Regions from separate parts of the Homo sapiens genome. Here regions 1, 2, 4 and 5 are each linked to region 3. Evidence: promoter capture Hi-C in 16 types of primary human blood cells and fetal thymus (Javierre and others, 2016). All regions are on one chromosome and are shown on one strand. Each heading gives the region's core, a stretch centred on a gene start or on the middle of the fragment in contact. The rest is flanking DNA. Distances are from core to core; before and after follow the strand shown.

Region 1 (2,700 bases), core at 2-2,501, 550 kb before region 3:
AGAGTAGACAGATGAGATAGATGTGCATCTCTCTCTCTCTCTCTCCCTCCCTCCCTCCCTCCCTCCCTCTCTCTCTCTCAACAGTCCAGTCAAAAATCCTTAGATCCTAAAACATTGGCTCTGATTGGGTCATGTTCCCATCTTTACATTAATTATGGTAATCAGTGGGATGCAATGCTCTGTGATTGGCCAGGCTTGAGTCTCATGCCCATCCTTGGCTCTAGAAGTCCATAACACCAAAGCAAATAAACAGACTGAAGAAGACGTAGCTTCCCAGAGGAAAATTCGAGGACAGTCTGTGTATCTGGTACTTTTGGGAGAATGATGATTGGATGTCAAGCAGGCAAAAATGGCAGTCATCCACATTGCACCTACTATGTTCTCTGCACTGTGGCTAACATGATAGAGGGTACGTGACCACTTTTTTGTCTTTAAGGAGCAGACGCTATGTTCAGAAAAAAGGTGTCACTACCTGTAGAACAACAAATAAAATATATAATAATAAATGAAGTTCACTGATGAGCATATCACAGGTTGTTATTTGCAGGCAACAGAATTCACTTCAGATACTTTAGGCAGAAAGTCTTAGGTAACTCATATAATTTCCAGGAGGGTTAGAGAATTGGGTTTGGATGCTACAAATAGGAACAAAGCTGCCAGGAAAAAAAGCTATATGACAATAGACTGGACACCAGAAACTCTACCACCCACAGTCTTGGAAGAACAGGAAGCTTGGTAACCTCATTTGCCAGAACATCTGATCTCCCTGTACTTAGCAGTTGCCATACATTGTGCACTTCTGCCTGTAAGACTGGAGAAGGTGTGTTTGCCTGGAGGCACCTTGGTCACATGGGTGACCTGCAAAAGGTTCTGGGAAATGTTGCTTTTGGCTCTCTGGCCTCTATGAACCACAGAGTTAGTAGGAGAATGTTGCAATGGAAACCGAATGAGTTAATTTACGATATCTGCCACAGAGCAGGTGACAGGAGTTCAGGGGAGAGAAGAATAAAAAGGCCAAGATCCAATCGTCTGTCACATTGGTTGTCTGACATTTGCTTAAAAATCAGAGGCTATAGATGCCGGGGATAAAATGTCCACAGAAGCCACACCTGGTCCATACCTCCAAGTTCTGGATGCCATTTGAAGACAGATGATGGCAAGTTGTGTTTGTCCATGGGCAGAAGATCAAGAAGAAGTCTGGGCTATGTTGTATGAACCATCTTGACACCTCCCTCCCCTTCAATATCAATATCCAATGTCTCTCCTTAAATGCTTCCCCTTCTGTCTACTTCCACTCAGTCACCTATGCTGGGCTACCTTTCTCTTCTGTCAGGACCCTATGGTAGATTCCTAACAGGTCTTTTTGCATCCATTGTGACCCAGCCATTCTTCATCCTGCAAAAAGAATAATGTCTTCAAAGCGCAAATCTAATCATAGCGCGCTTCAGTGGCTTTCATTGCTCTTTGGATCAAAACCCAAATCCTAAAAATGACCCCTTTCAGTTCCTCTAATCTAGACACCTACCCCAACCCCAAGTCTGACACAATTTTCCATAATCCCACAGGGCTTTCTAAGGAGTTACAAGGCCCCTTGTGACCAGATTCTTCCACGGACCTCTCCAGCTCATCTCAAGTGACTTTTTCCTTTGCTCCTTCTCAAAGGCCTCCCAACTCACACAAGGCCTCAGTGTGGCCAGCTCACTTAAGCTCTCAGAGACGTCAGATTCTTCCACCTCAGTGTGGCTTTGCCCCTACTCTTCCCTCTGCCTGGAGAAGCTTTCCTACCCTTCCTGCCTGCCTAAGACCTTCTCAAACTCTAGAGTAGAGGTCATCATTTTGAGGAAAGTCTCTTGTCACAGTCCCAGAGGAAAGCCCTTTCATCTCTTCTCCTGGTTTCTGCCACACCTCTGTTCCATCTCCCACCAGCTGGTCTTATTCACTGTGGTTTTCCTCACCTAGCACAGAACCCACTCAATACAAGTTGACTGAACAAGACCAAATAAACGTTAAAAGGAAGAAGAAAAAAAAATCCCTCTACACAGAAAGCAGTAATAAATAAAATGTGTTCTACTACCACCTTAAGACCTCAATTAATGTGCTTTTCTCCTCGTGAATCCTTGCTTCCAAGCAAATAGAATCTGACAGGCCGAATTAAATCATTTATCTTTCTAGGTCTCTGCCTTGGTTCTAACACTAGTGAAAAAGCCCTGATATTTCATAAGAAACTGGCAAAAGCAAGAGCTACGGCCTGGTACCTTGACTTTATCTGGTGGTGCAACCGATATATACATGTGTCAGGAGAAAAACATTCATTTCCAATGCTTCTTTTACCTAGGTGGAATTAAATGCCAGATTACCATATTTGATCATTTTGTTTTCTCACACACACCCTAAGGAACCTGTGTGTGTGTGTGTGTGTGTGTGTGTGTGTGTGTGTGTGCGCGCGCGCGCGCATGCGTGTGCGTGTGCGTGCCAACCAGGTTATTTAACTCCATACGTGGCTACAGCTGCAAACTACAGTGCAAACAGCCTTAGTGACAAAAACACAACCAGAAATGCTTAAAACTTCTGCTAAATGTTATGTTCCAGTTCCATCTTACACATTTTAATGTCTTTTGATTTGGAGTGACCTATGGGTTTCAACCATGGGCCAGCGAGGAAACAAAAGATCATTTCCACTCTGCCCTGTATAATTAAATA
Region 2 (2,700 bases), core at 92-2,591, 520 kb before region 3:
TGTGGCAAATTATATTCTTAAGCAATTAACTGTTGCTAACTCTCAGCTATTATATTAATTTATAATAAATGCAAATGAATATATTTGGCTTTGCAATTTTAAAAAAATCTGAATTTGAAAGGTGTAGCATTCTGATAATGCACATCACTTTAGAATGCTGGGTTTTTTTCTTTCTGTTTTTAGTGAAGACATAAATCAGGAAAAATCAATCAAGCAATAAAGAGCTCTGGTAAAACAGAGTCCAGCCAGCACTCCCACCAAAACAGGAGTAAGTTAACTTCCAAATTGCTAAGGATGGCCCACCGGCAGTTAGAGCTTTGTTAGGCTGAGGTTTACACCAGGGTGACTTTTTGAAAGGTCAAGTTACACCGGAGTGACCTGCACCTTCTCTCTTATACCCATAATAAGATGAATTAATCCTTAAATTGGGGAACTAAGCTTCTGCCAGTAGGTATTCCTAAAAATGTGTAGGTTTAAGCAGAAACTGGCACTGTATATTGAAGTACCATTTTGTGGCACTTAGTGCTTTATAATCTTCTCATCTTCTTACTGCCTAAGTGACCCGGGACAGTTAATATCTCTTAGCCTTACTTCATATATTTAATGCAATAGGAATAACACCCTGGGTTCTTCCTAGGGTTGCCATTAGAATTAAATGAGCTCATTGTGCCAGTAGGTCTAGCAGAATGCCAGAGAAGAGGCTCACTAAATATCAGATCTCCACCTTTTTCTAGTCATGCTTACGTTCGGTTAATGGAAATGGGGCTTGACTCAGACATACCCTTAAAGGATCTTGGTGCCATCTTCTTCTGCTAAGAGTTAAAAAGATTTCATTTTAAATACAATTCACAACTGTACCTTCACCATAAGCCTCATTGTATTCTCCCAGCCTTCTAATAGGTCTTATCCTTATTTCCTTGCCCATTCACTGGGGTTAGGTCAAATGGCACAAAACCACATGAGACCTGTGCATGTTGCCCATCAGACAGGATAGGCTAAGTTACACAGTAGTAACAAACAGCTCCAAATCTGAGTGGCTCCTACAACATCAATTGATTTCTTGCTCATCTCCATCTTGGGTCTGTTGGGAGCTTTGCTCTATGATGCCTCATGCTGGAACGTTGCCACAGCAGGGGGAGAGGGAGCACGGTGAAATGACATTGTGCTTGTACAGCTGCCACCCAGATGTGACCCCATCACTTCTGCTCAATCCTGTTGACCTAAGCAAGTCTCACCTGGCTATATGTAACTTCAAGGGGGCAGTGCAAACCTACCACATGCCTGAAATTAGAAATATTTGGAGAACAGCATTAATGACTACCACAGCGATCTTAGTTTACAAAGCATCTGTCACAATGATTACCCAACTTAATCCTCACAATTCCAAGATGGTAATTAATCATTAAATGTGATCATTTAATTATAAGGCATCAGCAAGCACCAACCAAAACAGAAAACCCAATATAAACAGTTCAGGCAACTCTGCCCACTAGTGAGTGAAAGTGTCTGGAGTGCATGAGATACGAGGTATGAATCTGCTACGTGCTCAAGCCTTATCCACCTCTCCAACCTCTCCATGTGTGTGTCATCTATGAGTGGGATTCTGCTTTTGATAAAGATATTTCTTTTTTTGTATGTGGCCTCTGAATGAAGGCCAACCAAGATTCTCAGCTCAAAAGCTGTAATCTTTCAATGTTGGAGGGGAAAAAAGGCCATTTTCCCCCTGCAAAGTAATCAAGCATGCTTCCCTGTCACACCACCTTCTTAGGGAGACTCAATTTGGACTATATCATGATTTCTGCCTTAAGGACTGACTTTAGAGTCTGCCCCTGGATGAGAGCTGAGACATCACTTCATCATTCTCTAAAAGATGAAGAAATGAACAAAGTTTCAGCAGTCAACAAGGACACTGAGCAAGGAAGTGGCTCAAAATTCCCATTTCTTTAAGGCAAGTCTCCTGTAAGGGAATAGCTTAGATGTGGCTCTCCCCATCCAGCTCAGTATTTCACCTACCTATTCCACAATGAAGATGAAAAGTGTGAAGCAGGAGGGTAGCAAATAGTCCTCACTTTTGTTAACCCCCTCAGGGAGGTTTTGGTTTCAAAGTCTGACCACTGGGTGTCAGGCTTCGGGGGAAAGAAAATAGAGATGGTTTATCAACCCCACTTAATTATGCCAGAGAATGCAGGTGAGATTTGCTAAAGGACAGAAAATCAGCTGGCTTAAGTCTGTCAATATGTCTGAAGAAGCTTACTAAACTTTCACTCATCTGACTACACCAATAAATATTTATCTTTTCTAAATCTGTACAAATAATTCATTAGACAGCACACAGCGATATTGACCTCAATCCTGTCCTTGATTTAAAGATTAAAAGGGAGTGGTCAACTTCTGTATCTAGCAATTCTGAAGACAGATAATCTGAAAGCGTCCCTGCAACAAAATACCTAGAAATGCATATAATGAATATGCTTAGGGAATAAATACTTTTTTTTTTTTTTTTTTTTTTTTTTTGAGACGGAGTCTCGCTCTGTCGCCCAGGCTGGAGTGCAGTGGCACGATCTCGGCTCACTGCAAGCTCCGCCTCCCGGGTTCACGCCATTCTCCTGCCTCAGCCTCGCGAGTAGCTGAGACTACAGGCGCCGGCCACCGCGCCCGGCTAATTTTTTTTTTTTTTTGTATTTTTAGTAGAGACGGGGT
Region 3 (2,700 bases), core at 178-2,677:
CCAGGCATCTTGGCCTGGAACAAGAGAGTGGTCTTAGCAGGAAACATGTCCTAGCAGTAAAGATACAGCCCAACAGCCCCTTCCACCGCCCTTGTGAGAGCTGGTCATTTGGCTTGAGTGGCCAGGTGAGGGCAGGATGAAAGCACCTCTCGGCAGGTGGATACCTAATGTGAAGCCCTTTCCTGTCAGTTCCTCCTGCTGAAAAAGCAGCCAACACAACTGTGTGATGGAGAAAGGGGGCAAGAAGCCCTCCTGACCTCAGGGCAAGAAGGCTGACTTCAAAGCACTTGGCCACTGGGCTAGGCGCCCAACATGCCCCAAACCTCTGCCCAGCCTTCTGTTACCCCTCTTCTAGGCCACGGGGGGCGGCCCCTCCCCTCCCAGAGCCTGCATGCCTTGACCTCGACTTTTTGCAACCTGCAATGTGGAGAAGTCGGGAGGAGGCCACGGGGTGAACATTCGCCCCAGACCTGATGTGGGGCAGTGAGGCCTCACCCTGCCCAGTTTGCACTCAGTCAGGTCGTGTTCAGCTGCTCCTATGCACGCCCCTACACACACAACTCCAACCCGCAAACACACACACACACACGCACACGCCCTCTCAAACTTTAATGCACCCTTGAGTCTCCCGGGGACGTCAAACGCACACTCCAGGACTCCACTCCAAAGACTGCTTCAGAGCAGCTGGATTCTGCATTGGCACAAGCTTCCCCAGGTGAGTCTGATGCAGGTGGCCCGTGGGCCACACTCTGAGAAACGCTGCCACAGGAACCTGTCTGGGTTCCCAGATTCTGGGGCTCAGGTCCTCACCGTCCTCCCCGGGGGCCAACACTCCACCCACGTCCCCCACACAAAGGCAAAGAAGGGGCCTGGGGAGTGGGTCAGGGTCGCGCTGGCCCGGCGCCAGAGGCAACTCCCTCGCGGCGGCGGACGCAGGGTGGGGCGGGACGGGATGGGGGCTGGAGGGGTCCCACTCACAGGGAGCTGATGTCGCCCGGCACGATCCTGGGCACCCAGGAAGAGCCCACGCAGATGATAGACTCCTTGGTACAGCTGCAAGTGGCGGGGCAGCGCGCCAGCCGCCTCACCTGCGCGCTCCGCGGTATCAGGCACGCGGCGCCCAGCAGCAGCAGCAGCAGCCCGAGCGCTCCGCAGCCGCCTCTCCGCAGCGCCATGCCCGGTCCCCGCTCCCCGCCCGGGCCCCGACCCCCACCGCCGCGCCGCGCGCTCGGACCCGGCGCCGCTGCAGACGCGGGCGCCGCTCGCTGCTCTGCCGCCGCCGCTGCTGGCGAGGACTAGGGAGCCGCGGGTGTGGGAGGCCGAGCCGCAGCCGAGCAGCATGCTGGCCGCCACCCCCACTCGGCGCCCCCCCACCCGAGCCCGGGCTGCTGGGCGGCCGCCGCCGCTGCGCCCGCCGCACTCGCGCCTGCCTGACATCAGCACTCGCGCCCGCAGCCCGGCTCTGGCCAATGAATAATGCATGGCGGGGCCCGCCCCGCGGGGGAGGGGGCCAGCGCCGGCCCCGTGGCGCCCCACCCGGCCCCCACCTCGCCACCCCCTCTCGCCCCGGGCCGGGCGCGGGGACAGAGGGAAAAGTTGGGTGACCTTGGGGGAGGGGCCAAGCCTGGCGGAGACCCCCGTCGGGGCCTGACTGAGCGGTGGAGGATCCGATGCCTGCAATACCTCCAGGGGTATAATCTGGGGAGGGCACTGGGTTCCTTTCAGGCAAATCAATAAAGTCGGAGCGGGGAGTGTGGAGAACCGGCTTGATTACTGGGGAGGGAGGCAGCCCTGGGTGCTTTGAAGAGGAGAGACTTTGGAGCAGCCTTTATTAATTTTGAAGTGCATGCTGCCGGTAGGGTCAGCGAGGATGGCTTTGCTTGTCTTCTGCGGTGGGGCAGTGAGGTCTGGCTCTCGCTCCCACAGCACCAGGGGTTACTGAAGCCAGCCAGTCCTCCCATGGGAGGAACGTGGGGAAGCAAAGCCGCTGCAGCCTGCACGCCCGGCGCTCTGGGCCCTGCCTGCTGCCTGCTAAAGAGCTGGAAAGCCCGGGAAAGTTTCCCCTCGCTCAGCTGCCCACGGGTCACCCCACCCGCCCCAGTCAGAGGAGGGTTTGTAGAGATTGAGGGTGTGATACATTCTAGCCACTGTACTTTTAATCTTCTAACCTTTTGAGGCAGGTCCTACTTATATCCTTAATTTATTGATGAGGCTGCTGACGCCCAGAAAGCATCCTGACTGGCTGATGGTCCAGCAGCTCCTGGCTGGGCAGGATGGGGCTCGGAGCCTTGAAGGGCTACCTTAACTGGGCCCTCCTGAGCCCCTCTTCAACTCCTTAAGTTTGAAGCAATGAGCGGAAATCTTAACACAGGTAATGTGCGGCTGAGGAAATCAAAGAAAATGACCAAAGCGGAAACAAAGTAATGGCTAATAACCTGAACTGCTGGGAGAAGGGAATCACAGCACGACTGTCGAGCTGCAAACCAAGGAAAAGCATGCCAGATGCTAAAACCTACTCAGAAAAGTCAGTATCGAATGCAAAAGTAGGAATCATACTATTGCTTCTTCAGCAATTATTGTTGGTGATCCATTGACAAGATCCATGAGGACGGTATCAGGCTGGCTGCTGTGGGAGGGAACAAAGGAACAGCTCCTGTCCTCAGGGAGCTAAAAGTCTAGCTGGACAGACAACCCTAAAAG
Region 4 (2,700 bases), core at 162-2,661, 530 kb before region 3:
ATCACCTGAGTTCAGGAGTTCAAGACCAGCCTGCCCAACATGGCAAAACCCCATCTCTACTAAAAATACAAAAATTAAATGGGCGCGGTGGCATGCACTTGAAATCCCAGCTACTCAGGAGGCTAAGGCACCAGAATCGCTCGAACCTGGGAGGCAGGGGTTGTAGTGAGCCGAGATCACCCTACTGCACTTAAGTCTGGGTGACAGAGTGAGACTCTGTCTCAAAAATAAATAAATAAATAAAAATAATTTCCTCTGTTGGTGTGGGGAGCAAGGGCGGTTGTCTGGAGCATCGCTCTTTAACTGAGGTAAGTCTTTAGGCACGAGCAGGAGTTGAGTTGGCACGGTGATTAGCCCAGGGAGATGCAGGTTTAAAGGGTGCACACCCAGCAGCAGAGGGAACAGCACGTGCAAAGAAGAAAAACAAGGAAGAACACAGTGCCGTCCTAAAGATGCAGCTAGTTTTGGTGCTGTTGGTTTTGTGGTTATTGCTTATTTTAATATCTCTGGAAAAGTCACAAAAATGGGGTTTAGCCTAGATAAGGAAAAATTGAGCTCAACTGGTTTGTGTAAGGAATAGGTTTCATATCCTCAGGAAACTGATTAGGAAGAAATAGGTTTAAAAAGGAGGGTAGGAAACAAAGAACTTGAAATTACCACTAGGATAATCAAACTTGGGCTTGTGCTACAAATACCACGGAGCTGTGTGTGGAATATCCTTCCACCGGAGGCAGCCGGGAGGAAATGACCAGGACTGACTCCTTGCGGAGGCCAGACCAAGTGACTTCCACCATTTTGTGGCTAATGTTTGTGCAATGGATGGTGTAGCATCATAGTCTCCGACTCTTCCAGAAAATACTCCAGTTTAAATTGGCTACAAATACAATCAATTGTTTGGTCAGTGAAAGGCTGCAGTCTCTATGAACCTTACCATACGCATCTATTTCCATGAGCCAAAATGCTAATGCAATTCCATCCCGTGGAACTATTCCCCGTGGTTAGTCTAAAAATCAGCTTTACTCACCCGGTGAATCAACTGACCACAAAATCCCACTGAGGAAATAACATTGGGAAAGCACCCAAAAAGAATCCTGTTGTGATTTATTTGGAACAACCATTGCTATGTTTTTATTTTTATTTTTATTTATTTATTTATTTTGAGACAGAGTCTTCCTCTTGTCGCCCAGGCTGGAGTACAGTGGTGCGATCTCAGCTCACTGCAACCTCCGCCTCCCAGGTTCAAGGGATTCTCCTGCCTCAGCCTCCCAATTAGCTAAGATTACAGGCACCTACCACCACACCTGGCTAATTTTTGTGTTTTTAGTAAAGATGGGTTTTTGCCATGTTGGCCAGGCTGGTCTTGAACCCCTGACCTCAGGAGATCCACCTGCCTTAGCCTCCCAAAGTGCTGAGACTATAGGCATGAGACACTGCGCCTAGCCAAAAACATTGCTATGTTTTTAAAACACGGTTTTTCAATATTTTAAAAAGATGCCTTTTAAAATATTGATTGGGAAATGACATTTTCCAAGCCTACACCTTCATAGTTACATTGCCCTTAAGAGGTACACTTCTTATTGAGAATCTGTTTTCTCCCACAATATTGATTAAGTCAGGACAATTTGCCAGGCATCAATAATATGCTGCCTTCATGGGACTTACTGTCTAGAATTGCTGCTGCTTCTGCCTGTTCCCACTACTATATTTTCTTGAGCTTCACTTTCTATAATGTGTTATGAAAGCAGTAGGTATTTTTCATTTATCGTATTTTTAAAATATGATAATTATGTTAAATAGGTTTTTTCAAATGATGCATGTTCACCTGCTGAAATGCAAATGCCATCCCCCTTACCATACCCTCCCTCCAAGACACACCTGTTCCCCAAAAGAGACAAACAGATGTTTCTGGATCCTTCCCTTAAATATTTACTTATGATGTGGTAGTAGCTTTCACAACTGACCGTCTCTTAACTACCCTGCTGGATTCACTGTAAACCATGTAGACTTCTGTAAATGATGATGATTCCCATGACCCCTGAAACACCTGAAGCTGGCAGGCTCCACCTGACTTTGTCCATGGATTCCCACATATTGAATTAACCCTTTGCTCCCCAAACCTGTCAAAGCCAGTTTATTCATTCATGCACAGACATCTGAGCGCCTATGATGTGTACACACTGTTTTAAGCTCTGGAGACACTGCAGTGATAAAGAACAGAGAAGTCCTGTCCTCAAGGAGCTTCTATGCTAGTTATACTTATTTGCTTCTACGGTTTAATTACATGTTGTAAAACCTATTTAAAAATGAATGGGAAGCTGGGCATGGTGGTTCATGCCTGTAATCCCATCACTTCGGGAGGCTGAGGCAGGTGGATTACCTGAGGTCAGGAGTTCAAAACTAGCCTGGCCAACATGGTGAAACCCCGTCTCTACTAAAAATATAAAATTAGCCAGGTGTGGTGGTGATTGCCTGTAATCCCAGCTATTCAGGAGGCTGAGGCAGAAGAATTGCTTGAACTGGGTAGGCGGAGGTTGCAGTGAGCCTCGACTGCACCATTGCATGGAGTGACATGCATGGAGTGTTGCCTGGGCGACAAGAACAAAACTCTATCTCAGAAAAGGAAAAAAAAAAAAAAAAAGAATGGGAAAAGAAGTTCTTGCTCCTATGAAAACCAAGTTGAATGTTTTGGCATGACTGAAT
Region 5 (2,700 bases), core at 102-2,601, 570 kb before region 3:
GTTGTTCCAAGAGTGAGCTTATTATAAGAGGGAGCTCACCTCCTCTTGCCCTCTTGCTCTCATGCGTTCCTGCCCTTCTACCTTCTGCCATGAAATGATGCAACACGAAGGCCCTCACCAAACATCAGCACCATGCTCTTGGACTTACCAACCTCCAGAACTGTAAGAAATAAATCTCTGTTTTTTATAAATTACCCAGTCTGTGGTATTCTGTTATAGCAACACAAAATGAACTAAGATAATTATCTAGCTGAGCTTGGCAGATAGGCTGCTTTAGACACTATCTGCCTCTTTGCTCAAAGAATCTGTGAGCTACTGGTGGCAGCCAATGTCACACTCATGCTGATTAATGCCATTAAAAGGTATAGTACCCAGCATTAGCTGGGCCTTTCATGCCATGCAACAAAGGGAAAAAAAGAGACAAATAACCCCTAAAGGGAAGTGAAAGATTGATGGGAGAATTTTTCAAGATGGGAGAGATTTTGGTACATTTATTCCTAATTTTATTGAGTCATAAAGCTGTAACTGATGCATTGAAGTCCTGGAGAGGATGGCAAGGGATGATATCCACAGCACAGGTGGAAGAAAAGCTAGGGGTGGAAAGATAAGAGATTTCCAGATATGAGACAAGAGGTTGAGGGAATTCACATTGGGTGACCATGAATCCTTACCTGGAAGGAAGCCCATTGGTGGGCAGGGGAGTTGGGGACAGTGGGAAATGTTCAGAGCTGCAGATATGAACAGTGAGTGAGCTTGATATTCCATACGATATTTGCTAGATGACGCTGAAGTTGAGGATAATAAAATTATACTGGCATTCTTTGGTATGGCTGGTTTTTTCCAACAGCAGGAAATAGCTTGCATGCAGAAGCAAACAGAACAGTTGGTTGCACCAATCCAAGACTAGGATTTTTGTGGACAGATATAGAAGGGTGAGAGATTAAGAGCTTTGAGGTTTTAGCAAGACAGTGGTTAACATAATATATCATGGGATCTCTCAGCTGGCTAAAAGGAGTCAGGGGAAAAGCATGGTTAATGAACTTGGAAAAAGGGAGAGTAGGGGAGCAAGCAGAGAGGCTATGAGGGTATAACCAGATATGGTTACACTGGAGTTTAATGTTCTGGAAGCAGAGACATTACAGAAGACAAGGCCAGAGTGTGGGCAATGTGACTGAGCTGGCAAAGTATGGTGGGGATGAAGTCTTGCAACTCTGAAGCTAAGTCACTGGATATTTCCTGCACACGCAGATGCTGAAGACCACCCTGATGGTGGCAGTTCAGATAGCAAAGAGGACATGAGCCAAGGGACTGAGCCTTCATGGGACCAGAGGAAGTAACAGGGATACAATAAGACAGCCAGGAAAAAGGGTAGAATATGGTCTATGGGAATTTCACTGGGAGGTATGGGATCATACAGTTTTGCAGGATTATGGCAAAGGAATGTTTTGGAAGCAATAGTGACCACAGCTCCTTTGAGCCTGGGAAGTGTAGACAAATGAATAGTCACTCCCCCTGCCCTCTCCAGAATGCACTTTCTTGGGGAAAAATCAGATGTGGGGAGGGAGAGTTTAATGAACCGGGGTCCAAAGACGTTGTTGAAAAAAATTATGAGAAAGTCAAGTGAGAAAGAAAGAGGGGCAAGCCAGAGAGAATGAGAATGACCTTCACTGTGGGGTTTAATGTTTCATCTTGAATATGAGCTTTATTTTTCACAAATATCTTTAAGATTTCTAGCCTGGGTCCAATCAGACAAACAATAATGATGCCATAGGATATAGTCAACATTCCTCTTCTCTTGGAATTATCTCAGGAATAACAAAAGATACTGTTTTTTGTTTGTTTGTTTGTTTGTTTGTTTGTTTGTTTTAAGATGGAGTCTTGCTCTGTCCCCCAGGCTAGAGTGCAGTGGCGCAAACTCGGGTCACTGCAACCTCCGCTCCCAGGTTCACGCCATTCTCCTGCCTCAGCCTCCCGAGTAGCTGGGACTACAGGCACCCGACACCACGCCTGGCTAATTTATTATTTATTTATTTATTTATTTATTTTTTAGTAGAGATGGGGTTTAACCATGTTAGCCAGGATGGTCTCGATCTCTTGACCTCGTGATCCACCCGCCTTGGCCTCCCAAAGTGCTGGGATTACAGGCGTGAGCCACCGTGCCTGACCGAGATACTGTTTAGAGTCCAGGTTTATTCCTTGTTTTGAAGTTAGGTAGTTCAGTAAATAGAACAAGAAAGATTTTTCTCTGTAGATCTCAACAGAACATAGGCCAGTAGGTATTTGCAGAGATATTATACCCTGGAAGGAAAGAAAAAAAGGCTCTGATAACTGGAGTTAAACTCTTGATGTAAACTATTTGCTTGGATCCCTTGACCAACATTTGGTTCTAGCAGCCAAAAGAATTTGCAAAAACTAAAGATGAAGGAAGGTCATCAGAGTTGTAAGAATGACCTCTTGACTAATATGTATGGTTGTTAAAAAGGGTTATTTTGGGGTTTTCAAATGCACAAAGAAAATATTGGGCTGGGCATAGTGGCTCACATCTGTAATCCCAGCACTTTTGGAGGCTGAGGCAGGTGGATTTCTTGACCTCAGGAGTTTAAGAGCAGCCTGGGGAACATGGCGAAACCCCATCTCCACAAAAAAATACAAAAAGTAGCTGAGTGTAGTGGCACACGCCTGTAGTCCCAGCTACTTGGG

Evidence for each region. Contacts are between HindIII fragments. The CHiCAGO score rates a contact against its expected background, and 5 or more counts as called.
Region 1: a contact is called between a fragment that was not itself captured here and the fragment with the promoter of LGI2 in region 3, in 3 of 17 cell types (M0 macrophages, M2 macrophages and monocytes). The highest score is 7.5, in M0 macrophages.
Region 2: a fragment that was not itself captured here is called in contact with the fragment with the promoter of LGI2 in region 3 in 3 of 17 cell types (M2 macrophages, M1 macrophages and monocytes); the score reaches 9.0 in M2 macrophages.
Region 4: a contact is called between a fragment that was not itself captured here and the fragment with the promoter of LGI2 in region 3, in 6 of 17 cell types (M2 macrophages, M1 macrophages, M0 macrophages and 3 more). The highest score is 12.5, in M2 macrophages.
Region 5: a contact is called between a fragment that was not itself captured here and the fragment with the promoter of LGI2 in region 3, in 1 of 17 cell types (M2 macrophages). The highest score is 5.7, in M2 macrophages.

Annotation. Positions count from the first base shown.
Region 1 is chr4:24,479,655-24,482,354 of GRCh38, forward strand. No RefSeq gene overlaps it. Among named protein-coding and RNA genes, the nearest start is that of MIR573, 39 kb to the right of the region's middle. The HindIII fragment of the contact is 1,045 bases long and covers 730-1,774 here.
Region 2 is chr4:24,512,902-24,515,601 of GRCh38, forward strand. No RefSeq gene overlaps it. Among named protein-coding and RNA genes, the nearest start is that of MIR573, 6.0 kb to the right of the region's middle. The HindIII fragment of the contact is 1,811 bases long and covers 437-2,247 here.
Region 3 is chr4:25,029,519-25,032,218 of GRCh38, forward strand. It overlaps LGI2 (leucine rich repeat LGI family member 2), which reads right to left and starts at 1,428. Exons shown (of 8, transcript NM_018176.4): 1 at 979-1,428. The coding sequence starts at 1,175. It overlaps LOC124900684 (a long non-coding RNA gene), which reads left to right and starts at 590. Exons shown (of 2, transcript XR_007058083.1): 1 at 590-715. The HindIII fragment of the contact is 5,840 bases long and covers 705-2,700 here.
Region 4 is chr4:24,496,414-24,499,113 of GRCh38, forward strand. No RefSeq gene overlaps it. Among named protein-coding and RNA genes, the nearest start is that of MIR573, 23 kb to the right of the region's middle. The HindIII fragment of the contact is 3,560 bases long and covers 1-2,700 here.
Region 5 is chr4:24,455,697-24,458,396 of GRCh38, forward strand. All of the region lies in intron 1 of LOC124900678 (a long non-coding RNA gene), which reads left to right. It also overlaps a transcript of PPARGC1A not described here. Among named protein-coding and RNA genes, the nearest start is that of MIR573, 63 kb to the right of the region's middle. The HindIII fragment of the contact is 6,066 bases long and covers 1-2,700 here.